6 separate regions of the Homo sapiens genome follow, and regions 2, 3, 4, 5 and 6 are each linked to region 1. Evidence: promoter capture Hi-C in 16 types of primary human blood cells and fetal thymus (Javierre and others, 2016). All regions are on one chromosome and are shown on one strand. The core of a region is centred on a gene start or on the middle of the fragment in contact, and the rest is flanking DNA. Distances in the headings are between cores, read along the strand shown. Region 1 holds the start of BASP1 (brain abundant membrane attached signal protein 1). Region 2 has its middle 210 kb from the start of LINC02223. Region 3 has its middle 190 kb from the start of LINC02223. Region 4 overlaps LINC02223 (long intergenic non-protein coding RNA 2223). Region 5 has its middle 2.0 kb from the start of LINC02223. Region 6 has its middle 66 kb from the start of LINC02223.

Region 1 (3,230 bases), core at 279-2,778:
CTGCAGTATACTGGGGGTCTGTTGGCCCGGGCTGTAATCCCGGGAGGTGGGGGTGGGGGGTCGGTCCACAACCCTATAGCAGAAGGCCATTTCGACGCTAGTGTTGGGTTTTAGCCCGCCCCACAGTGCGAGTGGCCGCGGGGGAGACAGAGGTGTTGTCAACCTGTACAAGGTCCTAAAAAATGCACCCATGTGTGCTGTGCTAATTTCAGCAGAGTGAGAATTACATGGGCAAGGGCTGTCCACCGAGTTCGTTTCAAGGCGGAAATGTCTCTGGGGACGCAGATAAGGAGCCTGGCCAAGCGTTCGATGAATATTCATGAAAAGAATGCGGTTTGCAGCCGCGCATTGTGCGTGCGATCGGATCCAGGATTCCGCAATTTTTATTTTTCTGGAAATGGAGGGGGGACGGGGGCGGGGGGAGCAGGAACCGGGCGCCGGGTTTCAGCTTTAGCGCTTTGGGCAAAAGCTGCTCAACCCCAACCCTACGCTCCCAGCGGGGCTGAGCCCAGTTAGGGCCGCGCGCTGTCAGGTTCAAGCCCACACCCCCCGGGCCCGGGCCGGGGCCGGGACCCAGGGCGGAGGCGCCTGGCGCATTCTTGGAACCAAAGGCTCGAAAAAACAAACTGCTCCGAGGCAGCCCACGGGTTCGTAGGAAGGCAATTCCGCCACTGACGAGGCTGGGGCTCCGATCTGCTCGGGAGGTGCTTCTGAGTGCACGTCGCCGTGTGAACCTCGTATTCCTTGGCCCCAGAACCAAGATCCAGGAGTCCCATGGGTCGAGAAAACCCGTTTGCCAAAGCAAAAAGCCACCCACTTCCTTCTGATCGGGCCAGATTCCCCATCTTCTTTCTCCCCGGACTCCCGCCCCACCCCACCCCCACCCTCCATCTTTGGCTGCTGCGCCCCTCGCCCCGAGCGCTTTCTCCCAGGCTGGTAAGGGCTCCGATGACGGAAGCGCTCCCTTCAGCCCACAGAACCGTCTCCCCGGGACTCAACGCACTGAGGGGGTTTCGCATTCGGCAATTCCTCCCGTCACCCGCAGCTCCTCTCCCCGACAGCCCCCTCCCCCCAGCTCCGTTTACCAACCTCGCCGCCCCCCTCACCCCTCCACCATGCGAGCGGCTGAAGCCTCCCACTTCTGGGCCCCCCATCACCCGGGATCCCCGAAGTGCGACGGAGCCCTCACAGAGGGACCCCAGGCCCTTGCCGTCCAATCCGGGCCCACATCCCTGCTGCCCGCTGCATGAAGGGAGAGCCCGGGGGCTGCGGGGCGGGGCGCGGCGCGGTGGGGGACGGAGGCCCCCGGGTCCGCGGCGGCGCGGGGCCACCGGGCGCGCCTCCTTACCGGCTCTGGGTGCCTATGCAGCCCCTGAGTTAGCGCGGTGCCGCCGAGAGGCCGGGGTCGCTGGCGTCGTCTGGCTGGTGCCTGGCCGCTGGCGGAGGCTCTCTCCCGGCTCGACGGCGGAGCCCGGAGCGAGGAGCCAGTTGGAGCGCTGCCGCCGCCGTCGTCGCCGCTGCCGCTACTGCCGCCGCCGCCGCCGCTGCAGCCTCTGCATTTCTCGCGCTCGCTCCCCCTCCCCTTCCTGCCCAGTGCCCTCCCCCCGCGCGTCCGCCCGCCCAGCCTCCCTCCTCCCGCGCTCCCCGCCCGCCTCTCTCCCCTCCCTCCAGCCCGGCGCCCCGCCCGTCTCCCCTCCACCCCCTCCAGCTCCATCTCCCCACCCCCTGCACTCCCTCTGCTCCCCTCCCCTCCTCCGGCGCAGACCCTCCCCTCTCCCCTCCAGCCTGGACACGCCCGCCTCCCCTTGACTCCCCCCAGCTCTGGGCCCCCACCTCCCCTCCCCTCCAGCACAGTCACCCCCATTTCTCTCCTATCCGCCATCCTGGTTCCTCCCTTCCCCCCACCTCCCAACTCTGTGCCCCGCCAACGTTTCCTAAATGCCCTCTATTCAGATCCCCCCTCCGCCTCCCCTCTCCTCTCCTCCATTCCTGCGTCCCCCTTCCCCCGCCGCGCCGCCTGGGCTGTCCGTGGACTTCTCCCACTCTCTCACTCTCTCACTCACTCTCTCTCTCTCTCTCTCTCTCTCACTCTCTCTCTCTCTCTCCCCCTCATTTATTTGGAACCGTTGGATAAGAAGTGCTCGGGCTCTCGCTCAGACTTAGGGAGCTGCCTCGAGGTGATGAATGACACCCCCTGGCACCAGCTACCCTTCTCAGACCCCAGTCCAGCCCGCTCCCGACGTCGACTACGATTCCGCTACCTCGGCTGGCAGCGAGGTTGGGGTGAGCCCCAGCTGCAGGCGCGTCTGGGCTGCGCCGCTGCAAACGAGTTGCGCACCTTGGGCGGCTCCGCACCTGCACCCGCACCCGCGGGGCTCAGCCCCGAAGGCTGCAGCTTCGGGGGAGGCGCGGTCGCCGAGGTCCAGCTGGTGGGGCGAGAGACGTCGCCCCTCGGAGGATGCTCTCGGAACTTGGGAGAGGAAGGAGGGAAGAGAAGAGGGGAAAGGGGCCGTCGATGTTTTTGATGTCTGTGCTTTAATGGAGGCCACCAATATTGAGAAGACGGGGTTGGCCGAGGCAGCCCGCACGCTGCTGCTTGCGAGCGCTCGAGTCAAAGCTAGGGCCAACCGCGGCTTGTCCGGGTGCCCTAAGGGGGCGGACACTTGGTTTAGCACCGGGACACAGAATAGCCACCGGGGTAGGAAGATGCGTTCACTTTGCTTACCTGTTGGCAAGAGGGACATACAAAAATAACGTAACGTGACATCGTTGACAACGGTAGCTCTTTGATTACACAAAAGCCAATTTTACCTTCCCGCAAAAGCCAGTTGACGCCTTTGGAACTTTTATTTGCGGCATTTTGGCGCCCTCTGGCTGTGTTTGGATCGCTTTCATGCTCGCCTGCGTCCCAGCCAAGAAAAAATCGATGGAGCTGCAGGTTGTCCTCAGGATGGTTCTGCCCTCAGGACCTGGGCGTGAATTCAGGGACAGGGTGGCCCTCCAGAACCGGAGTGACAAACTGTAACCATACTTAGGGAGGCAGACGTCAAAGGCAAGTACATCTGTATTCAACTGGGTAAAGGTAAGTGCATTTTCACTTAACAGGAAAATTAACTTATCGTAACTTTAACGTACATATTTGAATTAAGCAAAGTGGCAATATTTACTCAACTGCACTAGCGATTTTGCAGTGGAAACACTTGACGACCCTACTGTACACATTTACAGGT
Region 2 (3,230 bases), core at 538-3,037, 800 kb before region 1:
ACAAGTGAAAACAACATGAACAGCTTCTAGAAAATGTCTTTAAAAGAGTGTGCCTGCCTCCTTCTTTCTAACTTTTGTGCTGCCCAGAATGTGGATATAATGGCTGGATCCTGAGAAATCATCTGAAGCCTCGAGATATTTTTGATAATAAAAATGATACATAGCAAAACAACAAGAAAGAAGCCAGCCTGGCTGACTTAAAATTCCACATTAGCTAACTATGAAATTCTTTACATTTTCATCATCAATAGAATATATTTTAAAAATTTGGTAAATTTACAAAATGGAATCCTAAATTTAAAAATGTACTACAACTACATGTATAAATATGATTTTTTCACTAACAAAGCTGAGCAAAGCAAACAAAAACAGTGTAATAGATATGATTTCATTTCCTATATATTATTCTAGAGTTTGGATTACTAACATATATGATAAACATAAAAAACAAAGTAAGAGGGTTAACAAAAATTCTATAAATAGAAAACATTTCCATATCTAAGTAACATGTAGTAACAGAAAACCAATTTTCCTAGTGTAATTATTAGAAAGAAATAGATACATTTGGAAAGTCATATTTTAGAGATTAGAGATCTATGGAAACAACAAGAATGTGATAAACCAAAATCTCAGGCAAGGGAGACCCTTCTGTAGCTGATAATCACTGGCTGCTTTCAGCCTGTAAAGCCTTAATTAATTTGGTGCATGGGTGAGGCTCAAGCTAAGCCCTAGTAGGCATCCTCTATCAGAGGAAAAGAGAATCCAACAAAGCTATTGCTTATCTCATGAGCCTGACCCGAGACATGGGAAACTAAAGGAACTCCAAACAGTCAGTAAGCTTTCCCCACAGGACATGTGCTAAAGAAAGTGGAGACTCGGGGATAGGTAAGAGGTTTTATAAAAGGAGAGTAAAATATCCCACATCCCTACAATGCATAAGAGAACAGTTATACGAGAGAATGGAAGCCCACCACAAATACACAGCCAATCTCCTCCTTGATACACATGCTACAATTTGCATAGGAAAGAAGACTAAAGAGTTAAGCTGATAGTTATATAGTTAAGTTGTAGTTATTCAGCACTGAGGAGAAAGAGATCAGCCAGAGTTTTAATCAAAATCTGGAATGGCCACACCGCACAAAAGTACCAGAAAGAATGTGAATCTTTTTAAAACTGCAACACAACTAAAAACTTGGCCCAATCTGTGCAGCATACAATGGTTCTTTTAAAATATTGTCTAGCAAACAATCAAAAATTAATAGATATATGAAGTAGTACAGAAATTTGACCAATAATTTAAAAAACAAAACATGAATTATACAAATAGACTCATAGGCAATCCAGATACTGGTGTTGGAGGATGAAGAGTTTAATATATTATTAGCATACTCAAGACAAATGAGGAAAAGACAAATAAAATGGATGTAAATGTGGCAATTTTAGTAGAGATTCATATGAAAATAAAAAATGAAAATTCTAAATCTGTGAGGCAAACACAGGATCCTCTGTATACTACAATTAAAAAGAAAAGATTGTTAATCTAAATGACAATAACAAAACCCAATTATATGCTGGCTTTAGCACAATTTAAACATACACTTTAAATCTTAGGATACAGATACTTTAAAAATAAAATTATAAAATATAATGTACTATGCAATTCTATCATCAACAACAATGAAGAATGTCTGGCTGTATTCCTACTAGACAAAATAGATTTAAAACCAAGAGGTATTAGAAAAGATTAAGAGAGATAATTCATAATAATAAAAGGATCAATCTTTCAGGAAGGCATAGCAAATTAAATATGCAGGTACCTAATGATATAACGTCCAAATTTATGAAGTAAAAACAAGGAAATATTTTAAAAAGGAACTATCAAAGTTGAAGATTTTGACATTTCTTCTTTAGAACACACCGCATTGACTTAATAGACATATATAGAACCCTGTATCCAACATCTAAGAAATACACATATTTTTTAAGTGAAGGAGTATTTAGCAAAACTGAATGTATATTGAATAATCCCAGAATATTAAGAAATTAAGCAAGGCGGGGAGTAGTGGCTCATGCCTGTAATCCCAGCACTTTGGGAGGCCGAAGCAGGTGGATCACGAGGTCAGGAGATCAAGACCATCCTGGCTAATACGGTGAAACCCCGTCTCTACTAAAAATACAAAAAATTAGCCAGGCGTGGTGGCGGGTGCCTGTAGTCCCAGCTACTCGGGCGGCTGAGGCAGGAGAATGGCGTGAACCCGGGAGGCGGAGCTTGCAGTGAGCCGAGTTCGTGCCACTGCACTCCAGCCTGGGCGACAGAGCGAGACTCCATCTCAAAAAAAAAAAAAATAAATAAATAAGAGATTAAGCAAAACACTTCAAAAATGTATGGGTCACAGAAGACATAAAGAAAACTTATATGTAGGTGAATTGAATGATAATACAATTTATTCAAACTTTTGGCATGTAGTGACATGGTATCAGACAAGTTTTTAGTTTTCAATTATATTTTAAAAAAGAAAAAAATTGAAATGAATAGTATATGCTTTCATGTCACTAAACCACAAGAAAATCCAGCAAATTATTCCCAAGTAGAAAGAAATATAAACTATCAGAAATCAATGAAAATACAAAACAGACACAGAGTAGAGAAAAATCAAAGCCAAATTCTGATTCCTGGAAATTATTAATAAACTATTAGCAAGACTAATTATGAGGAAAAAATTAAGGAAAGCTTAGAATAGTAGCCTTAGGAATGAAAATGGGGTATCACCAGTGATTTTTCTTTAAAAAAAAGATAATAAAAGGATACCATATTAATCACTTTATTAAAAGAATAATAGATAGTGTGCTCATAAATTTGACAACCTAGTTAATATAGGCAAATTTCTTGAAAAACATAATTTACCAAGCTGGACTCGGTAAGAAATACACACACACACACACATACACACATACAGACACAGACACACACACAGAATTTTTTTCTGCTCAAACATTTGAAAGTAAGAAGTAGGCACCATGACACTTCATCTCTCAATATTTCATCATGCACTTCCTAAACTGGGACATTCATCTGTATAATGACAGTAACATCCTCACACTCAATAAATATTTAGATAATATTATTTTTAAAACAGCTCACAAATTCATTTATTCATCTCAAAATTTTTCTTAACTTTTTCACTATCCAACATCCAAAGATCACACATCACATTTAGTTTTCATGTTTA
Region 3 (3,230 bases), core at 292-2,791, 780 kb before region 1:
TTCAATACCATTTTATAATAAAAAACTACCAAACTAGTATATGACTAGCATAAACTAACTAGTTTTATCTGGACTAGTATTATCGGGCATAAAAGCTTGGTATAGAAGGAAGGTATTTCCATGCAATAAAGGCCATATATGACAAGTCTGCAGCTTATATCATACTCAGTAGTAAAAATTTGAAGAGTTTCCTTTAAGATCTGGATCAAGGAAAGGATGCCCATTCTCACCACTTCTGTTCACTTCTGTTCTAGCTAGAACTGGAAGTACTAGCCAGAACAATTAGGAAATTTTAAAAAATAGTAAGAGGCATTTGAGTAAGAAAGGAAGAAGTGAGATTGTTTCTGTTTGCTGATGACATGATCTTACATATGGAAAACCCTAAAGGTTCCACAAAAAAAAAAAAATAAATGAATTCAGCAAGTTCCAGGATATAAAATCTACATACAAAGATCAGTAGCATTTAGATGCACTAAAAATGAACTATCTGAAAAATAAATTACGAAAAAACCCATTTATAATAGGATTAAAAATACCAAGGAGTAAGTTTAAGGAAATAAATGATCTGTATATTAAAAACTAAGACATTGGTAAAATAAATTGAAGGTGACAGAAGTGAATGGAAAGATATCCCATGTTCATGGGTTGGAAGAATTAATGTTAAAATGTCCATAGGACCCAAAGTAATCTACAGATTCAGTGTAATCTCTATCAAAATGCCTGTGTAATTCTTCACAGAAATAGAAAAAACAATCCTAAAATTTGCACGGAACCACAAAAGACTCCAAATAAACGAAGCAATCTTGACCCAAAGGAACAAACCTGGAGGCATTGTGCCACCTGATTTCTATACTACAAAGCTATATTAATCAAAACAGCATAGTACTGACATAAAAACTGGCACATTGACCAATGGAATAGGATAAAAAGTTTAGAAATAAACCCAGATATCTACAGTCAATTGATTTTCAACAAAGGTGCCAAGAACACACAATGGGTAAAGGACTGTCTTTTTAAGAAATTGTGTTGGAAAGACTGGCTATCCCATGCAGAAGAATAAAATGGGACCCTTATACTCACCCTGTATACAAGAATAAATGCAAAATAAATTACAAATTTAAATGTAATACCTGAAACTTTAGAACCACTAGTTGAAAACATAGGAACAAAGCTCCATAACATGGGTCTGGACAGTGATTTCTTACATATAACCCCAAAACCAAAGGCAACAAATGCAAAAAATAAACAAATGGGAGTGTCTCAAACCAAAAAGCTTCTGCACAGCAAAAGAAACAACAAAGAGATAATCTACAAATTGGGAAAATGTTTGCAAATCACACATTAAATAAGGGCTAACATCCAAAATAAATAAGGAACTCAAACTATTCAATAACAAGAAAACAAATAACACTATTAAAAATAGACAAAGGACCTGAGTAAACATTTCTAAAAAGAAGACATATAAATGGCCAACTGCTATATGAAAAACAAAAGTGCTCAACATCACAAATCAGAGGAAGGCAAATTAAAAACTCAATGAGATAACACATCACACCTGTTATATTGGCTATTATCAAAAAGATGAAAGATAAGTGTTGGCTAGAATGTGGAGAAAAGGGAAACCTTGTACACTGTTTGTGGTATTGTAACAGCACAGCCATTTTGGAAAACATTATGGAGGTACTTCAAAAATGTAAAAATAGAACTACCATCTGATCAATCCAGTAATTCTACTTCCAGGTATATATCCAAGGAATTGCAATCCGTGTGTGAATGAGATATCTGCACTACCATGTTCATTGAAGCTTTATTCACAATAATCAAGATATGGAAACAACCAAGTGCCCATTAACGGAATAAAGAAAATGTGATATATATATGTACACATAATGAAATACTATTCACCCTTTAGAAAAAGGATATTTATCATTTGCAACAACATGGATATACCTAGAGGACATTATGCTAAGTGAAGTAAGCCAGGCACAGAAAGGGAAATACCACATGATCTCACTTATATGTGGAATCTAAAATTGTCAAACTCATAGAAGTAGAAAGCAGGATGACGCTTACCAGAGACTAGGTTGGGGGAAGAATGCAGGGAAAGGGAAGACATTGGTCAAAGAGTACAAAGTTTCACTTAGACAGGAAGGATAAGTTCTGGTGTCCTACTGCACAGCATTGTGACTACAGTTAATAATAACATATTGTATATTTCAAAATTGTGGAAAGAGTGGATTTGAATTTTCCCATCACAAAGAAATAAGTATGTGAAGTGATAGATATATTAATTAGCATTATTTAATCATTCTGCAAAGCGTATATGTACCAAAACATCAGTTTGTACCGTGTAAATCTATACAATTATTATCTATCAATTAAAAATAACATTTAAAAAACTGAAGCAAATGACACATTTGATTAGTTTCAGTTAGAAAACTAGAAAGAAAATGCATTCTATACACAATAATTTTGCCTATGTTTGTCTCCAAGAAGTCTAACATATTAATTTTTATTCCAGATATATAACATACATGAAGAATTTTCAGGAAATTGTTATAATAATGTAAAAGTTTTCAGAATTAAGTTCTTGAGAGTAATAGTCAAAGGAAATTGCCAAGACTTTTTCCTTCTAATAAAACTATTTCTTACGTATATACATTGATCATTATTGTAAGTAAAATACTTTGCTTGTCTTAGTCCACTATAATCCAATTAAATTCTCAATAATATTTAAAAGAATATCACTCATCTTTTTATGTATTTCTCAAAATTGAGACATCTAAAAGAAAAAAGTTCACATAGTCTAGTTGCAGATTTCTGCAGAGTCAACATGATATTAATATTATGAGACTATTTGGTAAATCTATGTCAAATTTTGGCCAACATTTCAGAGTTAAGTTGTGCTCCTGACACAGGAGAATCTCTCACAGGACTCAAGTACAAGAGTATCCATGTGGATAATGAATGCTGGTCTATTTCCCAGATGTATAACAAAGCTATGGGGAAAGTGGAGTCAGCTCACACTTCAAACACAGTCTGTTGATTCTGGTGATTAAATGCAATTTCTTCTCCGATATATTTTTCATACTAGTGTATGCATTTGACTTGTAATTAATACATCCTGGATTAATTTCTGGCTTATAATAAAGACCATGTAGTTTCACCAAATTTTAACATGTAATGTTTTTTAAAATAATAATTACAAGTATTTTTAAAAGTTTGTTACC
Region 4 (3,230 bases), core at 416-2,915, 690 kb before region 1:
TAATTCTAAGTCTTCTCAGGGTATCAAAGAGTCTCTACACAGCACACACTAGTATAGCCTGAGTAGCAGCTGATGTGACCCACTAGAAGAAGGGTACTTTGGTTCTTACCCATTTCACTCCAGGATTTATGGACCGTCCAAAAGGCTTCATGATTTCTGCAAATTCTCAGCCACTCTCCTCATTATAACAAGGAGTTTACTCACCTTCTCATGTCATTATTGGCTTCAAATGCCTCTTTGATCTAATTGCTGAATGACTTTAGTTTATGGATTGTACACATGCTGTCCTTGTTTTATAGCTCATCCAATCACAAATAGAAGAACATCTTTTTTGTCCATGAGTCCTCTCATTGTTTCCATTTTTCCTTCTAAAATACTTGCCCTGTGGACTTTCGCTACGAAAGTCAGATAGAAAAACAATAGTCTCACATAGACGACGTATGTAGCCCCCACATTTGCGTAAAGGCAAATCTCTGTAATAAATCCCTTATTGTACACCTATACTGTAAGTCCTCTTTTTCTGATCAAACCCTGAGTGACCCACAGAAATTCTTGGGTTTGCAAACAAAAAAGAGAAAGATAGATTAAAACACACACACACACACACCCTTGATATTCCTAATTGGAGTCAAAACTTGACCAAATCTTGATCATTGTAACTGCAGGATAGCCAGTGATAACATATTGGTCTCAATGATTCTAAAACAACCAAAAATAGTTTTAAACAATCCAAGTATTAAAGCATATTCAAATGTCATCAAAAAGGAAGAATGTCGCCAGTGGTATCCAGGATCATTTTATTTTATTAAGGGTTGTATAATTTTTATGTTGGGTTTTGTTTTCCTTTTAACTAATTCAAGTTGACAAGATTATAATTTCTAAATTATTCCTCCTTAATTGTAACTATTTTAATTTTGTAGAGTACCACTACTTTTTCTTTAAATGCAGCTTAAGAAGGAAATATATTGAAATATTTCTTGTCCTGATGGGTATTTGAGAAACTGGGAAAGCTATGTGCCCATTTGATGATGGTTCAACTTTTTCATAATGACAGACCAAAGAAGATCCCTCTGGCTAGTGTGACCTGTTTACAGTGAAGCTTGAGTCTGTTGATGTATTTTACTAAGTATTTTTGAATTTTCACATTGTTAGATACACAAGTTTCTAAACTTTAGACAGCTATCTAATCCACTAGCTATAACACAGATTGCCTTTAGGCGTATTAATTCACTTGATGGATTCCAGTTATTTGGAGACTTTCTGTGATATGTATAAAACAGAGTGACTGTGACTTCTTAGTCACACGAGGAAACATAAAAAGTATAGCTTAACTAGCTGCTTTATCTGATATGTCAAACTGACAAGTTGTCTTTAAAACTCTAACTTGTTGCTACCATGCAGATCAATAAAGGGTGGAATAAAGTTCAGTAAAGAGGAATTATTGAGGGATAATTAAGCCAAATTTGAAAGAAGAAACAAATTTTAAAAATCACCTCTTTATTTTATAGAAAACTGTATCAAATGCACTGTTGGTTGTTATGTAAAAATAAATTATTGATATAACTTATATTTGCCTCTCCATTTAAAAAGAGGACTGAGGAGAATAAATTATGAATGAGGTATTTACTGAGCAAAAGCCTATTTTTCCTTCTATTAGGAATCACACATTTTTGCCATCCTATCTGATGGCTGGAGCTCCACACTTGAGAGTTGACTCCACCTTAGCAAATGCTTCTGTACCTTACCCAAACACTCTCTTTTCTTACTTACCTGGCACGCCTTTAAAACAAATTTTCTTTGCCATTTTAAAAACAAGAAACAAACAACAACAAAACAAACATGTAAATAGAGTATTTAATCACAGAGAAGGGGATTAAGGCAACTTTGTCATAGGCCCCTTAAACTTTCTTTTTCCTTGGCAAAATGTCAACTTATATGGTTCTGTTTAACCCATCAAAAGTTTTTCAAGAATTTTGAAGGGCCTGAGATTTGACCCTATGTGCAATGTAACAAGTTTGCGTGCCACAGTTTCATGGAGGCTGATCAAAGGCACAAGACTCCTGGGACAGAAACAAAGGCCTTTATTACTCATAGCACAACGGGAAGCATGAGTCTCATGGCTATGTTGGTTCCTCTTGCTCTCTAAGTCCCACAGGGGTGACAGAGAGGCACCCAAGAGAATGCTGTGCATGCACTGGGTTTGCATCCCAGCCAAGTGACCCCTAAGCTTAGGAGGAGATATTACCTCTACCTTCCAGTGTTGTTTGCTATAGAAATATCCTTGAAAAAAATAGCCCAAAACAAAGATTGCCAGTGTCTCTGCTCACAAGATGTGCAGAATTGTGAGAAACCCATGGAGAATTATCTCTCAACAAGTGTAATGCCAGACTTAGTTCCAAATCTTCCTTATTATAAAGAGCTGATATTTGCCTACTCTTAACCTCAAAAAACTTGATCTAGTAAAGGGAAGGAGTATTCTCTATAGCAGGTGAAATTATTTCAAACTAATTTATTGGGCTTCCAATTACATGTGGCATTCATTGTATTAGGACTGTATCAAGCAAATCACCTGTTAAAAAACCAGTTCATTCCTTAACTACTTCACCTTACATATATTAAGAGCAATGCTCTCAGAAACATGTCTTAATCTGTTTGGGCCATTAAAAAAATGCATAATTTATCTTTCACAGCTCTGGAGGCTGGGAAATCCAAGATCAAAGCATCGGATCCAGCGTCTACTGAGGGCATACTTTCTGGTTCTGTGTCTTCACATGGTGGAAGGAATAAATGAGTTTTCTTTGGCCTATTTTTATAAGGGCACTGATCACATTTATGATGATGTAATCACTTCCCAAAAGGCCTTCAGCACCTAATACCATCACTTTGCGTGTTAGGATTTCAACATATGAATTTAGGGGTTAGAAACATTCATATCATAGTAGAATGTATTTATTCACATGCTATGAGAATAAAATTCTGCCTCAAAAAACAGGGTGTCAATTAGAGGAAAAATGGTGGATAAGAGGCAGGACTAACTTGTAGCTCCCACTCAGAGGGACAGAGCTATGAAGACCCATATCATGAACTTTTGCTCCAAGAACTACCACAGAAATATACCAGGTAAGCCCAGAGAATCCACAGACCCTCTGAAAGAGGTGGATTGCTGCTGCAGATTCCGGGGGACAGCCAACCTTGCTTTCTCAGCTGGGAGGCCTGTAGCCTGGGGCAAG
Region 5 (3,230 bases), core at 483-2,982, 590 kb before region 1:
CAATTCTTTCTTTTATATTTTGCCTCGTTTCTATTTCCAGTGATGGCTTCTTCGTACATCTCAATTTCCAACACCAACCAAATTACAATTTAGAATTAAGCATCAACATATCATGACAAAAAAAAAAAACAAGGCTTGGTTGGAGCAACTGGCACTTGGTCAGCACACATAACCCCTTGCTATTGCAAAATGAGATGGAAACATATAGTAGACTGCAATTCATGTTGTTTATCATCAATTCTTCCATTAATTCACATTTGTTCATAATCTTTTAAACAGTATAGCAACACTTTGTTGTCCTTTATGCCTCCTAAGAGCAATTTTAAAATACTTTTCCTGCTATCAGTGAAAATTCTTTCTGGCAATTTCATACAATTGTGCAGTCATATCACAAAAGGGCTGGCAAACCTAGTGCATCAGCCATACCTCCATATTAATGGAATTATTTTTGTCTGAATTTTGTGCTCATAAAAGGGAAGAAAATTACTGAAGTTGTATAGGATTTTCTTGGGAAAAATTCTTCCTAAAAGATATTTCCCGGTATTCTATTTATGCTGTTCAGTAGGTAAACAAATAAACTAGACTTTTAGAATGCTAAGTAAATGAAGTTTTAGAATGCCATATCAAAATGCTCAAACTCATAGCCCAGCTTTTTCAATGTAGTATGCACAGAATCCTAAGCGTGAACAGGAAATGTGCGAAGGCTTCTTTTGCATCCAAAGTATCCATGGAATACAAATGTTAAAATACCGTTCGACAGAAGTGTTATAAATCCATGAATTTAAAATACATTTTATTCTAATAAACTTGGAAATTTATGCCTGCAATAGACCCAGGAAATAATGCAATCCCTTGTTTTATATATGAGAAAACAAACGCCAAGAATCAGTAAGAAACATACCAGTCCAGATTAGTTGCAGACCTTCAACTAATATCAGAAGGGTTTTTGATTCTTATTGGCTTAACTTATAAAATGTTCACCATAAGCTTCTTCAAGATAAGAATTGCATTTTGTCTTCATTGTTGTGTTTTAATTTATAGCTTAATGCTCAACTTTCAATAATTACTAACAATGGTTTATGCATGTTATGTGTGTGGCATCATCTGATAGGAACGCTTCCAACCGAAAATAACAGGAAACACTATATAGAGTGGGTGGCTTAATAAATATTGGATAATTTTTCTGGCATAACAAGTAGTCATGAGGGAAGCAGCTAGCATTGGTTCAGTGGTTTGACAATTTCTGAAATTCTCTTGGGATTTCTCATGTTTACTTCCTGGTTGCAAGATGACTGCAGTAGCTTTCAGCATTGCAGTCTGCCTTCAAGAAAGAAGGAAGAAGGAGCCATGCCAGGAATTATATCAGGTAATACCTTATAACATGCCCTGACATGAGGAAAAGCAAAATCCTTCCTAGAGCTCTTAGCAAGTTCAGGCCATGTCTTAGTTTCCAGAACTAAAGCATATGGCTGCTCTCACTGCAAAAGAGACTGGGGACATAAGAACTTAGGTTTCTTCCAACTGTTATGGCAGAAATGATAATGGAGAAATGGATTTAAAATACTTTAGTGTGAGCCAAAAACATTAGATGCTTATGTGAAAATAGAGAGAAAAAATAGAAACAAATGAAGAAAGAAACCAAAAAAAAGATAAAGAAAGAAAATAGAAAACATGTATTCCACTGCAATCCTAAAACAGGAAATATGAATTATTCAAAATGAAAAAGAGAGGTGATATGAAGCCACATATAAATGTTTTTCAAGTTCTTTTTGTGGTGGACATTGTCACTAGTAACCAAAGCAGACCCACAGAGAGTGTGTAGCAATTTCAGCAGGCATTAAGAACCTGTGGGTTGGTTGGGCACAGTGGCTCAAGCCTGTAATCCCAGCACTTTGGGAGGCTGAGGCGGGTGGATCACGAAGTCAGGAGATTGAGACCATCCTGGCTAACACGGTGAAACCCGGTCTCTAATAAAAATACAAAAAAATTAGCCAGGCGTGGTGGTGGGCGCCTGTAGTCCCAGCTACTCGGGAGGCTGAGGCAAGAGAATGGCATGAACCCGGGAGACGGAGCTTGCAGTGAGCCGAGATGATGCCCCTGCAGTCCAGCCTGGGTGACAGAGCGAGACTCCGTCTCAAAAAAAAAAAGAACCTGTGGGTTTTGCCAATTGTCAGGTCAAGGGAAAGCTCCAGGTAAACTATTGCTAAGAAATTTTAACCACTTCTGAATGTCCAAAACTTAAAATCACTACCCTACATGAATAGTGTTAATAATTTTTGTATACTATTCTTAACACATAATTTGGAAGGGTTATATTATTATAAGTTTTTTGTTGTCTGACTTTAAAATCACTTGCAAGTGTTAGAAAAGTACTTACAAGTATTGTAGAAGCTCTTTCTTTTCCTTTGGGTCAGTGCCATACAGTATAGAAAGCAAGTAGGCCATATTAATTGCTTAGTATCAAGTCAGAAGCTTCAATTTCTAGGGCACCTTTGACTCATTGTCCTACTAAAAAAAAAAGTGCAAAAGTGCATGCTACCTCCTCCTCCCCAGTCCCTGCTAGGATGTAAGCTCCATGAGGGTAGAGATTCTGTTTGTCTTGATTTCTACTATATCTGTAGTGTTTACAACAGTGCTTGATACAAAATAGTTATTCAATAAATAGTTGTAGCATGAGTAGGCAAAACTTCATCCAGTTAAGACCAATTGCCTACTAGGCAAATATTATTTTACTTGGAGGTGTAATTCAATACTTTCTGCAACACCCTACTGCAACATAGGTTGTACAGCAATAAAGTTAAACATCAGATCCTTCCTCAGAAAACAGCTTATTGAGCCAAAGAATGAAACTATAAGGATCTTGAGAGTGAGAGCCACATACTTATCTTTTGTCTTCCTTGCCAAACCCAAAGCCTGACACATAATAAATGTTTGTAAAATTAATTGCTGACCAGTTTTTATATTGAGCAATTACTAAAGTGTTGTCAATCAATATTTCAGTCTAAACCATTAAAATAAAACTAAATTGACATGTTTCCAATAAATATCCAACCTCTGAACTTTACTCCTAAGAACATTATTCAAGTTCAAAAGTATTCAACTTTCCAACCAGAAAACTAATGAAAATCACAGAGGTAATTCATAATACCCAAGTCAGGGTGAAGTATACACTTATACATGCATACATTACGGAGCACTTCTTATGGAGATCATTCTGGGTTAGTAAAATA
Region 6 (3,230 bases), core at 213-2,712, 520 kb before region 1:
TTCATTTTCCCTCTCCACAACTCGTGTCCACACAGCAAGACCCATAGGCCCTGACAGCTCATGTCTGCAACTCCTTTCTCCTGACTCCTCAATATGAGTTTAAGTAATAGACCTGTAATGCCAATCCTGAATAATAAAAGCTGCTTTACAAAGTCTGGTTCAGAGGTATCATAGAACATTCTCCTGATATCCCACATCAGATTCCTGGTGCAAGCATCGCAATACATTTTATACCATTACCTTTATTTGGCAGTGGGTTAGTTAATTCAAGAACAGGAGCATTCTTATATATTAATTTTTACTTAAGTTTTATGCCATTTTCCCTTTTGAGAAAAAGAGCATAAAATTTTGTAGTATCAAATGTTTGAGTATAAGTTTAATGCATTAAATTTTGTTAACTTTACAAATAAATTAAAATAACGGCTTAATATTTATCTTTCCATAATATTATATTTTTATTTTATGTGATTATATAATATGTGTTTGTGTTTTAACTGAAGGGCTTATTTAGAGAATATAAGATTCCAGCACTGTGTAATCTCTCTTTTTCCCAGTGTCATTACAAATCGATAAGTCACTGAAGATGAATTTAACAGCAGCTAAGTGGTGCATAAAATCAGTTTTTCAGTTTGTATTTTCAATAGTAAAACAGAGTTTATACAATACCCACGATTTGGTTTCATTTTTTGCTGAGTCTCAGGTTTAATTTAAGCCAATGGGACCTTTGGAGATTGGTGTTGAACTGATTTAGTAACATTCTTGAATTTCTGCATTCCAAATAATAGGTACTGATAATCATGGTCACATGTGAGTTAAGTCAATTAATATGCTCCTCAAGCTTCTCAAGCTTATTGTTCATGGCCTCCACCAAGCTCAACTTCCTACTAACTCACTCCTTCCTGGTCTAATTTTGCAGAAAACTATCAAGAAACCTGCAAATCATTCAAATCATTATCATCCACTCATAATTTCTAGCGATAAGTAATGCAGATTTGTTACATTCCTAAAGGAATTGCTCTGCAGTAGTTAACCCTATTATTTTTTTCTCAAGAAATCAGAGTGGGGAGAAAAGGAAATGGACTAAAATATCCAGGCTCCCTTCCGCAGTAAGGTTCTGAGAGAGTCATTGTTAGAATTAAATCAATTAGTAGTACAGATAATTCAATAAATTGTGGTTGGAGAGTGGATGTTCTCAAATCATATTTTAGAAACTAATTATCTCCTGGTTCCTCAAACGGGTCAAAGAGCATTCAGGGACCACAAATGGAGTGGGTATGTCAGTGGTACTCCTCAGAGCTTGGGATGGTTTTACTGCTGCAGGAAAAAGAAACCTACTAGCAAAATCCAGATAAACAGTCAAAGGTACTAATCTTTTCTTAAGGCACAGCATCTATTTGCCCCTTGGATTCTGTCTACTGCCCTCACACATGGGTGCCTATCCCTGATTGATATGGTTTGACTCTGTGTCCCCAACGAGATCTCACCTTGAATTGTAATAATCCCCACATGTCAAGGGAGGGACCAGGTGGAGATAACTGAATCATGGGGGCAGTTTTCCCCGTGCTGTTTTTGTGATAGTGAGTGAGTTCTCACAAGATCTGATGGTTTTATAAGGGGTTTCCACCTTTGCTCAGCACTCATTCTCTCTCCTGCCGCCCTGTGAAGAGGTGCCTTCTGCCATGATTGTTAAGTTTCCTGAGGCCTCTCCAGCCATGCAAAACTGTGAGTCAATAAACCTCTTTTCTTTATAAACTACCCAGTCTCAGATATTTCTTCATAGCAGCATGAGAACAGATTAATACGCTGATTCTGTGGAAATGTATGTACGCTTTAAGGGGGGTCACTGAAATAAATCACCATTGATTTTGGAAAGGACTTCAAAAAGGGTAACTGAGTTTTGTCTGAGTTAACCTTACTTGGCTGGAACTTTTCATTTCCTCTGAGTTAAGTCAAGTCAGGTTAATATGCTTGTATTAGGCACCTTTTGTTTACCTGGAACTGAGAGAAATAACAAGATAATTGTTATCTTGTTATTTGTCTCCAAAGGAGAGTCTGCAAGCCAAAAACAAAAGCTTCATAGGAGCCAAATATCATCTTATGGATTTATTCTCTAATTGCGATAATAGATTTTCACATTATTCTGAAAGATAATTATTTCCCAGAATTGTTATTAAAGTGTTTCAATAAAACATTCTTACAGATAAAATTTATGCCCAAGAAGTTATGATAAAATCAACTCATGAAAATGTTAAGTAATCATGGTGATGATAACGATGATGATGATGATGCCAATGATGATTTCGAACAAGATGTAGTCAGTTTTGTTTTGTATGCATATTTTGATATGCAAATTTGTTTCTACACCATTAATATATTAGCAAAAACTGTGAGCATAACATTAATTTTACATTTCACAGTTATGTATAGTTATTTCATCTTTAAGGAACATCAGGTGAATGCAGAAAATGGCACTCTGCTGAAACTGAGCCTCAAAGGAATACATAAAACATACGAACACCGAGAATTTGTCAATTATCTCAGTTTACTCATGGGTTATGAGCCATACCCTTCTAGTGTTACAACTTTCCCATGACTTGAAAATAACTGTCCTTCCTCTACTTCACAATAACTGGCAAGCTGCAACTCTTCTACAACCAAACTTCAAGTATTTTTCAAGATAAAAGGCTACATTTATTCTATTATTTATTTCTTAACCACATAACATATGTAAGACTGTGCTACTTGTTTTAGTATGTTCCTATCTTATTTATGTGTCAGTGACTTAGTTTGGCGGTATTATACCCATAGCCCCATTTTTCTCACAAGCCCTTTTATGTTATGTAATTTTCCACAACAGTGTGACTTATAGGAACACATTTGTCATGTTATAACAGAAGTGACAGTACTTATACTTTTCATATTTAAAGCGGGTTCATCAAAATAAAAACAACGAACCACGCAACAACATAGTATACATTTTATATAACACAGGAAAATCCATTCTTGGAGCACACCAAAGGCCACTCATTCATTTAACTGAGAGAGTCTTTTATAAAATTAGTATTTTTAAACTAGATCCACAGCTTAGATCTACAGCATGAGCCGGACTTGTATTACAAAAAGACTCTAACATAGCCTTCAATGTCATTGTGGTTTCCATTATCCAGGTAATTTCACCACCATCTCTTACTTTTCTAAAGTACCACCTTGAGAATCAATATGTACTATGA

Evidence for each region. The method cuts DNA at HindIII sites, captures the fragments that hold promoters and counts their contacts. A CHiCAGO score of 5 or more calls a contact.
Region 2: a fragment that was not itself captured here is called in contact with the fragment with the promoter of BASP1 in region 1 in 1 of 17 cell types (M1 macrophages); the score reaches 5.4 in M1 macrophages.
Region 3: a fragment that was not itself captured here is called in contact with the fragment with the promoter of BASP1 in region 1 in 2 of 17 cell types (megakaryocytes and naive B cells); the score reaches 6.7 in megakaryocytes.
Region 4: a fragment that was not itself captured here is called in contact with the fragment with the promoter of BASP1 in region 1 in 4 of 17 cell types (monocytes, M2 macrophages, M0 macrophages and 1 more); the score reaches 7.5 in monocytes.
Region 5: a fragment that was not itself captured here is called in contact with the fragment with the promoter of BASP1 in region 1 in 1 of 17 cell types (fetal thymus); the score reaches 5.3 in fetal thymus.
Region 6: a fragment that was not itself captured here is called in contact with the fragment with the promoter of BASP1 in region 1 in 1 of 17 cell types (monocytes); the score reaches 5.3 in monocytes.

The regions. Positions count from the first base shown.
Region 1 is chr5:17,215,929-17,219,158 of GRCh38, reverse strand. It overlaps BASP1 (brain abundant membrane attached signal protein 1), which reads right to left and starts at 1,528. Exons shown (of 2, transcript NM_006317.5): 1 at 1,349-1,528. BASP1-AS1 (BASP1 antisense RNA 1) reads left to right here and starts at 1,737. Exons shown (of 3, transcript NR_027253.1): 1 at 1,737-3,082. RefSeq lists an enhancer at 1-408 and silencers at 443-762, 1,253-1,732. The HindIII fragment of the contact is 5,505 bases long and covers 1-3,230 here.
Region 2 is chr5:18,013,946-18,017,175 of GRCh38, reverse strand. No RefSeq gene overlaps it. Among named protein-coding and RNA genes, the nearest start is that of LINC02223, 210 kb to the right of the region's middle. The HindIII fragment of the contact is 1,893 bases long and covers 841-2,733 here.
Region 3 is chr5:17,996,718-17,999,947 of GRCh38, reverse strand. No RefSeq gene overlaps it. Among named protein-coding and RNA genes, the nearest start is that of LINC02223, 190 kb to the right of the region's middle. The HindIII fragment of the contact is 532 bases long and covers 1,276-1,807 here.
Region 4 is chr5:17,906,139-17,909,368 of GRCh38, reverse strand. The region is part of intron 5 of LINC02223 (long intergenic non-protein coding RNA 2223); the gene reads right to left. Among named protein-coding and RNA genes, the nearest start is that of LINC02223, 100 kb to the right of the region's middle. The HindIII fragment of the contact is 1,128 bases long and covers 1,102-2,229 here.
Region 5 is chr5:17,803,669-17,806,898 of GRCh38, reverse strand. No RefSeq gene overlaps it. Among named protein-coding and RNA genes, the nearest start is that of LINC02223, 2.0 kb to the left of the region's middle. The HindIII fragment of the contact is 1,485 bases long and covers 990-2,474 here.
Region 6 is chr5:17,740,155-17,743,384 of GRCh38, reverse strand. No RefSeq gene overlaps it. Among named protein-coding and RNA genes, the nearest start is that of LINC02223, 66 kb to the left of the region's middle. The HindIII fragment of the contact is 1,225 bases long and covers 850-2,074 here.